2 separate regions of the Homo sapiens genome follow, and region 2 is linked to region 1. Evidence: promoter capture Hi-C in 16 types of primary human blood cells and fetal thymus (Javierre and others, 2016). All regions are on one chromosome and are shown on one strand. Each heading gives the region's core, a stretch centred on a gene start or on the middle of the fragment in contact. The rest is flanking DNA. Distances are from core to core; before and after follow the strand shown. Region 1 holds the start of CARMIL2 (capping protein regulator and myosin 1 linker 2). Region 2 overlaps CTCF (CCCTC-binding factor).

Region 1 (5,808 bases), core at 3,001-5,500:
GCCATCACACCTGGCTCATTTTTGTTTTTTTTGTTTTTTTAGGGTTTTTTTTTTTTTTTTTTTTTTTAGAGATAGGATCTTGCTATGTTGCCCAGGCTAGTCTCAAACTCCTGGACTGAAGTGATCTTCCTGCCTCAGCCTCCAAAAGTGCTGGATTATAGGCATGAACCACCATTCCCAGCCACCTAAGCATATATAACCTCTTTGCAGAACAATGAGGCTCAGTTTTTCTGTATCTTCATTCAACACAGCCTGTCATTCCTGATTGTATACATTCTGTTTGAAAGGTTTTTGTTTGTTTGTTTGCTTGTTTGTTTGTTTTGAGATGGAGTCTCGGTCTGTTGCCAGGCTGGAGTGCAGTGGCGTGATCTCGGCTCACTGCAACCTCTGCCTCCCAGTTTCAAGCAATTCTCCTGCCTCAGCCTCCCCAGTAGCTGGGAATACAGGCACGCACCACCACACCTGGCTAATTGTATTTTAATAGAGACGGAGTTTCACCATGTTGGCCAGGATGGTCTCAATCTCCTGACCTCATGATCCGCCCGCCTCGGCCACCCAAAGTGCTGGGATTACAGGCGTGCACCACCATGCCCGGCCCTCTGTTAGAAAGTTTAAAAGTTTAAAAGTAGCCTCCCAGCTACTTGGGAGGCTGAGGCAGGAGAATTGCTTGAACCCGGGAGGCGGAGGTTGCAGTGAGCCAAGATTGCGCCACTGCACTCCAGCCTGGGTGACAGCGAGACTCCGTCTCAAAAAAAAAAAGTTTAAAAGTGGATTTGTTTTAGCTGGAGAGGGGGCAAGAGAATTGACATCCTGATGGAGTTAAGGCTGAAAAGGGATCCTCCTGCTGCATAGCCCAGGATGCATCCTGTCTGTCCCTTAATTATAAAACATTCAGCAGCAGAAGCCAGTTGTGTTACTGCTTCTGTTGACAGGGAAGTTCCTGAACCTGCATGCAGCTCCCTCAGTGTTAAGCCACAGAAGTAAAGAACCTTTGCCCCTTTCACCCCTAGGCTGGCATCACCCTATTGCTGCCCAGCTCAGCAAGTACCTGAACCCTTCTCTGACTTGTCAGGACCTGGTCTTTGAAAATCATCTGTGGTGAGCCTTATGGCAGCACCAAGGGGGCATAGCCCGGCCCACCTGGGAGGCAAGTCTCGCCCTCAGCCTGTGCTACCCAGAGCAGGCGAGGCTGATGCTCTCGGGAGCTTTGACATTTCCTGAATGCCCATGGAGTGGCATGCCATCCAGAACACAGACGGGCTTGAACAAGCTGACAGCTTCTCACTGAGTCACTGTCACTTGTAAGAACCGAGTCCCATGTGTTCACTTGGTCTCTGAGATCAGGTTTGCTGTGTTACTACCTCCCTGACCACCATCAGCCACGTGGCTAGCCCTGCAAGCCTGTCCAGATCTCTTAGTTGTCCCTGCCTGCCCCCATGTGCTCACACACACAGGGACTGGCCCCACTGGCATCGCTGCAGCCTCCAGAGGCCCTCCACCTGGGCATGGCTCCAGCCCTTTTGGCAGTCACTCTCATTTCTCTCTCCTCCTTGTCATTCTAAACAGAAAAATCCCAGTGAGGTGGATTTTCTGCCATTCTGTTTTGGAATCCCTGGGTTGTCATGGTAGACTTGGCAAATGTGAGTGTTATCTGAGTGCCAGGCACTGTTGCGGGCACTTCCCTTAATAAACATTGAATCCTTTGAGCAAGGCTTGAGGTTAGTTAATAGCTCCGGCTTACAAACAAAACTGGAAGACCAGAAAGGCTAAGCAATGTGTTCAGTGTCAAAATCTAGGCAGTGTGCCTGCAGAACCTGCTTTTTTTTTTTTTTGAGACGGAGTCTTGCTCTGTCGCCCAGGCTGGAGTACAGTGGTGAGATCTTGGTTCACTGCAACCTCTGCCTCCTGGGCTCAAGCAATGCTCATGCCTCAGCCTCCCCAGTAGCTGGGACTACAGGTGCCCACCACCACGCTTGGCTAACTTTTTGTATTTTAGTAGAGACAAGGTTTCACCATGTTGGCCAGGTTGGTCTCGAACTCCTGAGCTCAGGCGATCCACCTCGGCCTCCCAAAATGCTGGGATTATAGGCATGAGCCACTACACCTGGCCAGAACCTGCATTCTTGGTTCCTTGGCAGTACTGTGTGAGACCTACTGAATTGTCACCCTACAAGCAGTTTGAGGGTTCTGTGTGGTCTTAGAGCCTTAGATCTTAATCCAAATTATGTCTCTTCGTGGCCAGGCATGGTGTCTCACGCCTGTAATCCCAGCACTTTGGGAGGCCGAGGTGGGCAGATCACCTGAGGTCAGGAGTTGGAGACCAGCCTGACAAACATGGTGAAACCCCGTCTCTACTAAAAACATAAAAATTCCCTGGGTGTGGTGGCACATGCCTGTAATCCCAGCTACTTGGGAGGCTGAGGCAGAAGAATTGCTTGAACCCAGGAGGCAGAGGTTGCAGTGAACCAAGATCGCCCTACTGCACTCCAGCCTGGGCAACAAGAGCGAAGCTCTGTCTAAAATAATAATAATAATAATGATAATAATAATAATAATAATTAGCCCAGGCATGGTGGTGGGCACCTGTAATCCCAGCTACTCGGGAGACTGAGGCAGGAGAATTGCTGGAACCTGGGAGGCGGAGGCTGCAGTGAACCAAGATCGCCCTACTGCACTCCAGCCTGGGCAACAAGAGCGAAGCTCTGTCTAAAATAATAATAATAATAATGATAATAATAATAATAATAATTAGCCCAGGCATGGTGGTGGGCACCTGTAATCCCAGCTACTCGGGAGACTGAGGCAGGAGAATTGCTGGAACCTGGGAGGCGGAGGCTGCAGTGAGCCAAGATTGTGCCACTGCACTCCAGCCTGGACCACAGAGCAAGACTCTATCTCAAAACCAACAAACAAACCAAGTATGTCTCTTCAATCGGGGAGGCAGCAGGAACTCTCTGTGCTGCATCTTCTGCAGCTGACTCCTCCTTGTCACCCTTAGCTGTCATTTCACCTCCACCTTGCTGAGCTATGGGCAGGGTAGACTGCTGTTCCTTACCGCTTAAGTGGAGTTTAGATTGTAATAGAAGAAAAAAAATGCAGTCTCTTCCTGTGAACTTTCCAGAATCTAGGTCCTGGTCTTTGAGAGGGCAACAGGCTACCAGGCCCCACCCTATGACTGTCTGACCCCTCTCAGCCCTGGAGACACTGGCTTATTTCTCTCTCTCTGGCTGCCCCCTCCCAAACTCTCTCCAGCCTGGGGAGAAGGCAGACACAAGAAGACCCTCATGTACCTGGACGACTCACTCCGGCCCTCTATGAAGTGCTTGGGGTTCAGGGCTCACCTTAGCCCCAGGCTTCCCCCCGAAGGCTCCGGGTACACCCTCACCTTCGGCCCTGACCCCACCTCTGCGGCAAGGAAGGGCGTCTGGACCCATCAGGCTGTTTTTTTTTTTTTTTTTTAGACAGGACCTGGCTTTGTCACCCAGGCTGGAGTACAGTGGTGCGATCTCCGCTCACTGCAAACTCTGCCTCCCAAGCTCAAGTGATCCTCCCACCTCAGCCTCCCAAGTAGCTAGGATTACAGACACACGCCATCACGCCGTCTAATTTTGTAAATTATTTTGCAGAGACAGGGTCTCCCTATGTTGCCCAGCTTGGTCTCGAACTCTTTGGCTCAAGCGTTCCTCCTTCCTCGGCCTTCCAAAGTGCTGGGATTACAGGCGTGAGCCACCGCGCCTGGCCCCATCTGACATTTTTTCCCACCCATTCAAAATCTCTTGGATCCCTAACAGGGTCACGGACTCCAGGTTCGGAGCAACGGGCAGGACCTCCGGTGTTGGCAGAATTCGGGCGCTCCTTGCTGAACAGTCCCCCTTCTGCCAGGCGCCTCGTCCACCTCCGCAGCCTGGGCTTTGGAGGGGACCAGCCCCGGTGGGCCGCGGGGATCCCCAGGCAGGCAGCGTCCCCTGGTGTTCGCGGCAGGGACTGCGGGGCGGGGTGGAAGCCGGGGGCAAGGACCCGCTGGAGGCCCGCCACACCCGCGACCCTCCCGGCCACGCCACTGCCCACCCCGACGTCTACCCTGGCGGAGAAGCTCCTGGGCGACGGGGCGGGCGGGCAGGTGGGACTCGGCCCCCCTCCCACAACCCCGCTCCCGGGCAAGCTCTCGAGCCGCGAGGCCGGGGCGGGGAGGGGCCGGGCCGGGGGCGGCCTGGCAGGAAGCGGCGCGCACCTTCCGCCGCCGGAGGAGCAGGTGGCTGCCGTGCGGGTCTGGGCCCCAGGCTTCCTGTGTGCGCGCTCGTCCTCTGCTGTTTCCCGCCGGAGCTCGTTGGGCCTCCCCGGCCCGCCCGGCCCATGGCCCAGACCCCCGACGGCATCTCCTGTGAGCTCCGAGGTAAGCGCTGGCCCTTCCTGCCTTCTTGGCCGGGAGGAAGTAGTGCAGCCCCAAAATCAGAGGCCCACCCAGCGCCCCAGAGGGCCTGGTCAGAGGTCCTCCCTGCTCCCCAGGAGGGCAGGCGCCCCAGATCCTCTCCCCTCCTTCCTCGCTGGCCGCAGATAAGCCCCAGGGCCCCAGCCTGGCACAGACTGTGGGCACCAGTGGCTTCTGTGCAAGGACTGAAGTCACCCAGCAGGCTGCCCTTCCACAGGCGAGATCACCAGGTTCCTGTGGCCCAAAGAGGTGGAGCTGCTGCTGAAAACCTGGCTACCCGGGGAGGGTGCTGTGCAAAACCATGTCCTGGTATGGGGCAGGGGACAGAGCCGGGGAGGCGGCTGTGGCCCCACAGAAAGAGCCTCTTGCTCTGCCCAGGATATCAGACTGTCTTTCCCCAGGCACTGCTACGATGGAGAGCCTACCTGCTGCACACCACCTGCCTCCCGCTGAGGGTGAGTCCCAGGGCCTGGCCACACCCCCGCCCGCCAGCAGCTACCTTGGCAGGGGGCTGCATCTGCAGAGTGGTCCTTCTTGGCCTTGTGGGCCCTGACTTTGCACCAGCACTGGGCTCTGGGCAGCCGACAGGAGGGGAGTCCAGGCAGATCTGGCTCTGCCCCAGGCTGCCCAAAGGACTGGACTTCCATGAGGGCGGGGCTGGGGGCTTGGTCCCAGCTGATCTAGGCCCTTTCTAGGTGGACTGCACGTTCAGCTACCTGGAGGTCCAGGCCATGGCGCTGCAGGAGACACCCCCTCAGGTGAGACACCTAGTACCCTACCTGGGCCTGCAGCCTGGTCTTCATGCTACCACCATCACCTGCGCCCATGTGTGGAGCCGAGGCCTAGTAGTGCCCCTTCCCTAGGTCACCTTTGAGCTGGAGTCCCTGCGTGAGCTGGTCCTGGAGTTTCCTGGTGTGGCCGCCCTGGAACAGCTGGCCCAGCACGTGGCTGCAGCCATCAAGAAGGTCTTCCCTCGCTCGACCCTTGGGTGAGGCCTGGCAAATTCGAGGGGCTGGCAGGGGAGGAGGGAGTGCATGAGAAGGGCTGCTTCCCATCCCAGAGGCTGGAAGTCCTTTGCCCCCTTCTCCTTAACCCCCTACCAGGAAGCTATTCCGGAGGCCCACACCAGCCTCCATGCTGGCTCGGCTGGAGAGAAGCAGCCCCTCGGAGTCCACTGACCCCTGCAGCCCCTGTGGTAAGGGTGAAGGCAGAGCCACAGGCCTTCCAGCCTGCCCCACCTCTGCCTCCCCAGACCCGCAAGCTGGGGGGGCCCCAAACTGAACAGAGCCATTCAGGTCCCAGCCACCACCTAGTCTGTGGGTCTGGTCTTCCTCCATCGCTGATGTTTTGTCTCTCTCCTTTTCCACATCGCACCCCTA
Region 2 (5,808 bases), core at 1,436-3,935, 54 kb before region 1:
CCAGCAAAAGTGTCATTTGGGCTATGGAGAGCAGAGAGAGGACAGCATGTACTTGGGAGGCAGCCTCCTGTTGGTACTATGGCACCAATGTTGACTCACAGATGAGCATTATCTTTGTAAATGTTCAATAAGTGAAATAAACAGGCTACCCTTAACAGAGGGCTCTGAAACCACATCAAAATAATATATATTTTTTTGATACAGATTCTCACTCTGTACCCCAGACTAGAGTGCAGTGGCGTGAACTCAGCTCACTGCAACCTCCACCTCCTGGGTTCAAGCGATTCTCATGCATCAGCCTCCCAAGTAGCTGGGATTACAGGTGCACGCCACCACACCCGGCTAATTTTTGTATTTTTTTTTAGTAGAGACAGGGTTTCGCTATGTTGGCCAGGCTGGTCTCGAACTTCTAACCTCAAGTGATCCACCCGCCTTGGCCTCCCAACATGCTGGGATTACAGGCGTGAGCCACCGTGCCCAGCCTCAAAATAATAAATTTGAGGCCTGGGTGTAATGGCTCATGCCCATAATCCCAACATGTTGGGAGGCTGAGGCAGGAAGATTGTTTGAAGCCAGAAGCTCAAGACCAGCCGAGGCAACAAAGCAAGACCCCACCTCTACAAAATAATAATAATAAAATAGTAGGGTGCAGTGGTGCATGCCTGTAGTGTCCCAACTACCCAGGAGGCTGAGGCAAGAGAGGCACTTGATCCCAGGAGTTCAAGGCTGTGGCAAGCTACGATTACACTACTGCGCTCACTCCAGTCTGGGAGACAGAGCAAGACCGCACCTCTTAAAAAAGATAAATAATTATAATAATATTAATTTGAGATGGCTTAATACAGTTCCACTCAGTTACATTAAATTTCTTCTGCACAAAATTGGTCTAATTCCATACATATTTTTGTTATATACCGTTCACCTGTTCTGTAGTTTGTCAGGCAAGGTCCACCTCATCATTTGATATCCAGCTGTAGCAATTCCTTTCCTTAAAGCCCTTCACCCACTGAAGTCATCCTTTATGCCAGGGTGGTAGGAAGTATGTTAACCGTTGTTACAGTACTCATCACACTATATAGCTGCTATTTGTTTTTCTTTCTGCCTGCCAGACAAGGAGCTCCCTAAGAACTGAACCTCGTGCAGAAGACAAAGCTTATCTGGGAGTCAGCTTTAGCACAGTACTGATTGAAGACTACCCCTAGTACATATGCTTGTACTCTCTCTCCCTTCCCTGCCTCCAGCCCCAAATGACGCTTCAACACCTAATACCCGATTTCTTCCATTAACTTGAAAAAGAGCCTGGACGCGGTGGCTCACACCTGTAATACCGGCATTTGGGGAGACCAAGATGGCTGGATCACCTAAGGTCAGGAGTTTGAGACCAGCTTGGCCAACATGGTGAAACCCTATCTCTACTAAAAATACAAAAATTAGCCTGGCATGATGGTGGGCATTTGTAGTCCCAGCTACTCAGGAGGCTGAGACAGGAGAATCACTTGAACGCAGGAGGCGGCCGTTGCAGTGAGCCAAGATGGCGCCATTGCACTCCAGACTGGTCAACAAGAGCGAAACTCCGTCTCAAAAAAAGAAAAAGAACAGTTAGAACTTTTTTTTTTTTTTTTAAAGAAGAGAGTTCCTTTCTACAGCAGCGTCAGCCACCTTTTGGCGAAAGAATTATTGTCTAGCCTTTATTATTCTTTGTAGCAAAAGAACTCCTTCCCCTCCTCCCATACTAGTTTCACTGTTGCCATTACAAATATTTTATTAGTACGTATTTCCTAGATTCAAAGCTTCAGTGGGCTTTCTTCAAGTAGCTGTTAGAATAATTGTTTTGTTTTGACCATACCCTTTAATATTAACAAATGGGAGGGGAGATTGTTAACAAAATACTAGAATGCTCTTAACTTTTTTTTTAACTTAGAAGAAACATTTTCATTTCCCTTTTAATTATTTCTACACACACACATACAAAAAGCCCTGTTATTTTATAATTTTTTATTTTTATTTTTTTAGTAGAGACAGGGTTTCACTGTGTTAGCCAGGATGGTCTCGATCTCCTGACCTTGTGATCTGCCCACCTCGGCCTCCCAAAGTGCTGGGATTACAGGCGTGAGCCACCGTGCCCGGCCCTAACTGTTCTTTTAAAAATTGGCCGAGCACGGTGATCGGCCAGGTGTGATGGCTCACACCTGTAATCCTAGCACTTTGGGAGGCTGAGGAGGGTGGATCAGCTGAGGTCAGAAGCTCAAGCCCAGCGTGGCCAACATGGCGAAACCCTGTCTCTACTAAAAATACAAATATTAGCCGGACATGATGTTTGGTGCCTGTAATCAATCCCAGCTACTTGGGAGGCTGAGGCGGGAGAATCGCTTGAACCCGGGAGGTGGAGGTTGCAGTAAGCTGAGATGGCACCATTGCACTCCAGCCTGGATGACAGAGTGAGACTCTGTCTCAAAAAAAAAAAAAAAAAAAAAAATGCTGGACTGGGTGGCTCACACAAATGCTGTGATTACAGGCGTGAGCCACCGTAATCCCAGCACTTTGGGAGGCCGAGGCGGGCAGATCACTTGAGGTCAGGAGTTTGAGACTAGCCTAGCCAACATGATGAAACCCCATCTCTACGAAAAATACAAAAATTAGCTAGTCGTGGTGATGCGTGCCTGTAATCCCAGCTACTCAGGAGGCTGAGGCTGAGAATTGCTTGAACACAGGAGGCAGAGATTGCAGTGAGCCAAGATCTCACCACTGCACTCCAGCCTGGGTGACAGAGCGAGACTCTGTCTCAAAAAATAAATGAAAATTAATGTCAGAGAAGTGAGAGGTACAGTTGTGATTAAATAGATGAGTGCTTTTTCAGATAAAGGCTGCTTCCGTTCCCAGTCACTGTGAAAGAAATGGTCACTATTATTTTTCTGCTTCTCAGCCCAAGTTATTCTCCCAATTCAACTCCTCCTCATTCTTTATTGTAGTCTACAACTTTCCTGGTACTAGTTCACTGATACTTTGCTTTGATGTATTTTAAGCTCTCAGATAAGATGATGGCGTATATGTTTTCAGGAATAGCAGAGTAAAATGGTTATTTTGTTTAACTTTTAAACCTAGCTTTTACTCTAAAAGAGTTAATAACTTTTATTCGTTTTGGCTAGTGTCCTGCATCTAGTAAAAGTTACTTAGCTTTTCCTTTCATCCTCAGGAAAAACTGATTACTTTTTTTGGGGGGGGGCAGTAAGGGCACAGAGTCTTGCGCTGTCACTCAGACTGGAATGCAGTGGTGTGATGATAGCTTACTGCAGCCTGGGCTCAGGCGATCCTCCCGCCTCAGTCCCGAGTAGCTGGGACTACAGATGGATGCCATCATACCTAGCTAATTTTTTTTTTAATTTTTAATGGAGACAAGGTCTCACTATGTTGCTCAGGCTGGTCTTGAACTCCTGGGCTCAAACGATTCTCTTGGCTCTGCCTCCCCAAGTACTGGGATTATATGTGTGAGCCACTGTGCCCGACCTGATGACTTATAATTGCTTTTTTTCCCCTCCTTGTCCTAATGTCATTTAACATTCTGTATAGTGAGAATACCAGACTAAGCTTTTCAGTCAACATTTTTCTAATGTAAAGATCTATCGACTGGACGCAGTGGCTCACACCTGTAAACCCAGCACTTTGGGAGGATGAGGCGGGCACATCACCTGAGGTCAGGAGTTTGAGACCAGCCTGGCCAACATAGTGAAACCCTGTCTCTACTAAAAATACAAAAATTTGCTGGGCATAGTGGTGTACGCCTGTGATCCCAGCTGCTCAGGAGGCTGAGGCAGGAGAATTGCTTGAACCCTGGAGGCAGAGGTTGCAGTGGCCGGGATTGTGCCACTGCGCTCCAGCCTGGGTGGCAGAGCAAGAATCTGTCTAAAAAAATAAATAAGGCCAGGCACAGTGGCTCATGCCTGTAATCCCAGTAATTTAGGAGGCTGAGGTGGGAGGATCACCAGAGCTCAGAAGTTTGAGACCATCCTGACCAGTATGGTGAAACCCTGTCTCTACTAAAAATATAAAAATTAGCCGGCATGGTGGCATGCGCCTGTAGTCCCAGCCACTCGGGAGGCTGAGACATTAGAATTATTTGAGCCCAGGAGGCGGAAGTCGCAGTGAGCCAAGATCGTGCCACTGCACTGCAGCCTGGGTGACAGAGTGAGACTCCGTCTCAAAAACAACAACATCAAAAAAAGATACTTACAGAGGCCAGGCGTTGGTGACTGGCTCAACGTCAGTAATCTCAGCACTTTGGGAGGCCGAGGTGGGTGGATCACTTGAGCTCAGGAGTTTGAGACCAGCCTGGCCAACATGGTGAAACCCCGTCTCTACTAAAAATACAAAAATTAGCGGGGCACAGTGGCATGTGCCTGTAGTCCCAGCTACTTAGGAGGCTGAGGCAGGAGAATCGGTTGAACCTGGAGGCAGGGGTTGCAGTGAGCCGAGATCGCGCCACTGCATTCCAGCCTGGGTGACAGAGTGAAACTCCATCTGGAAAAAAAAAATTTATATATATATGTATAAATGTTTAATATATATTTTATATTTATATATTTGTATATCTTTTTTATATTTTAATATATGGTTTTTAATATATATTTTATACATATAAAGAGAAAGGTGCAAGGTATCTTCTGTTCTCTTAAAATTTTTTACAATTTCAACTTTTATTTTAGATTCGGGGGTACATGTCCAAGTTTTTTTGTGTACATGGGTATATTGTGTGATTATGAGGTTTGGGGGTACAATTGTTGCTCATCACCCAGGTAATGAGCATAGTACCCAATGATTAGTTTTGCAGCCCTTACCCCGTTTTCTCCCTCCCCCTCCTAATCCCTAAGGCCTATTGTTATGTTTATGTCCATGTGTACCCAGTGTGTAGCTTCCACTTGTAAGTGAGAACATGAGATACTTGGTTTTCTGTTCCTGCCTTAATTCGCTTAGGATAATGACCTCCAGCTGCATCTGTGTTGCTGTAAAGGACATTATTTCATTCTTTTTTATGGCTGTGCGTTCTCTGCCTTCTTATGATGTCTGAGGGTTCGTATCAACCTCTGTTAGGCCATTTGTTAGGTACCCTTCATGTTGACTTTCAGAATTTCTGTGGCTTGTGAAAGTTCATGGGGTCTTAGAGCTGCTAATGTATTTCTTACCAAGAGAATGCAGATAGACTTCTGATCTCCCCAGGAAATAAGTTGGGGTTTTTAGCAATCAGTTGCCCCTTATAATGGATAGTAAGCAGTATATTAAAAAGTTGTGGGTTTAGTTATAAAATAGACTGCTGGAAATCATTCTCTTCTACTGTCTTATTCTCAGTACACATGGATTATTCCTAGTATAATAACCAGTCTACTTAACTGACTAAACTCTGCAGTGGTGAGTATAAAAGGTTGTTTTGGTTGTTTTCCTTTGGAAATTGTCTGACATATTTGCTATGTAGTCATAATCATAGGTGATAAATTACTAAACCTTAATATCTTCAAAAATTAGTGTATTCACAATTAGCTTCCATTTTTACATGGCAGGATTTTAAAAAATCTAACCTGTAATTGTGTTTTTGGGAATTTTTATTTTTCTCTATTAAGAAGTGACACAGGCTGAGCATGGTGGTTTATGCCTGTAATCCCAGCACTTTGGGAGGCCACTTGAGCTTAGGAGACCAGCCTAGGCAATACAGTGAGATCCCATCTCTGTAAAATAAAATGAACCAAGTATGGTGGCACATGCTTGTAGTCCCAGCTACTTGGGAGGCTGAGGTAGGAGGATCACTTGAACCCAGGATGT

The links. The method cuts DNA at HindIII sites, captures the fragments that hold promoters and counts their contacts. A CHiCAGO score of 5 or more calls a contact.
Region 2: a fragment that was not itself captured here is called in contact with the fragment with the promoter of CARMIL2 in region 1 in 4 of 17 cell types (endothelial precursors, M2 macrophages, M1 macrophages and 1 more); the score reaches 7.3 in endothelial precursors.

The regions. Positions count from the first base shown.
Region 1 is chr16:67,640,894-67,646,701 of GRCh38, forward strand. It overlaps CARMIL2 (capping protein regulator and myosin 1 linker 2), which reads left to right and starts at 4,251. Exons shown (of 38, transcript NM_001013838.3): 1 at 4,251-4,393; 2 at 4,647-4,738; 3 at 4,831-4,884; 4 at 5,125-5,187; 5 at 5,293-5,417; 6 at 5,533-5,624. The coding sequence starts at 4,354. RefSeq lists a silencer at 3,945-4,334. The HindIII fragment of the contact is 10,344 bases long and covers 1-5,808 here.
Region 2 is chr16:67,588,508-67,594,315 of GRCh38, forward strand. All of the region lies in intron 2 of CTCF (CCCTC-binding factor), which reads left to right. Among named protein-coding and RNA genes, the nearest start is that of CTCF, 29 kb to the left of the region's middle. The HindIII fragment of the contact is 1,795 bases long and covers 1,789-3,583 here.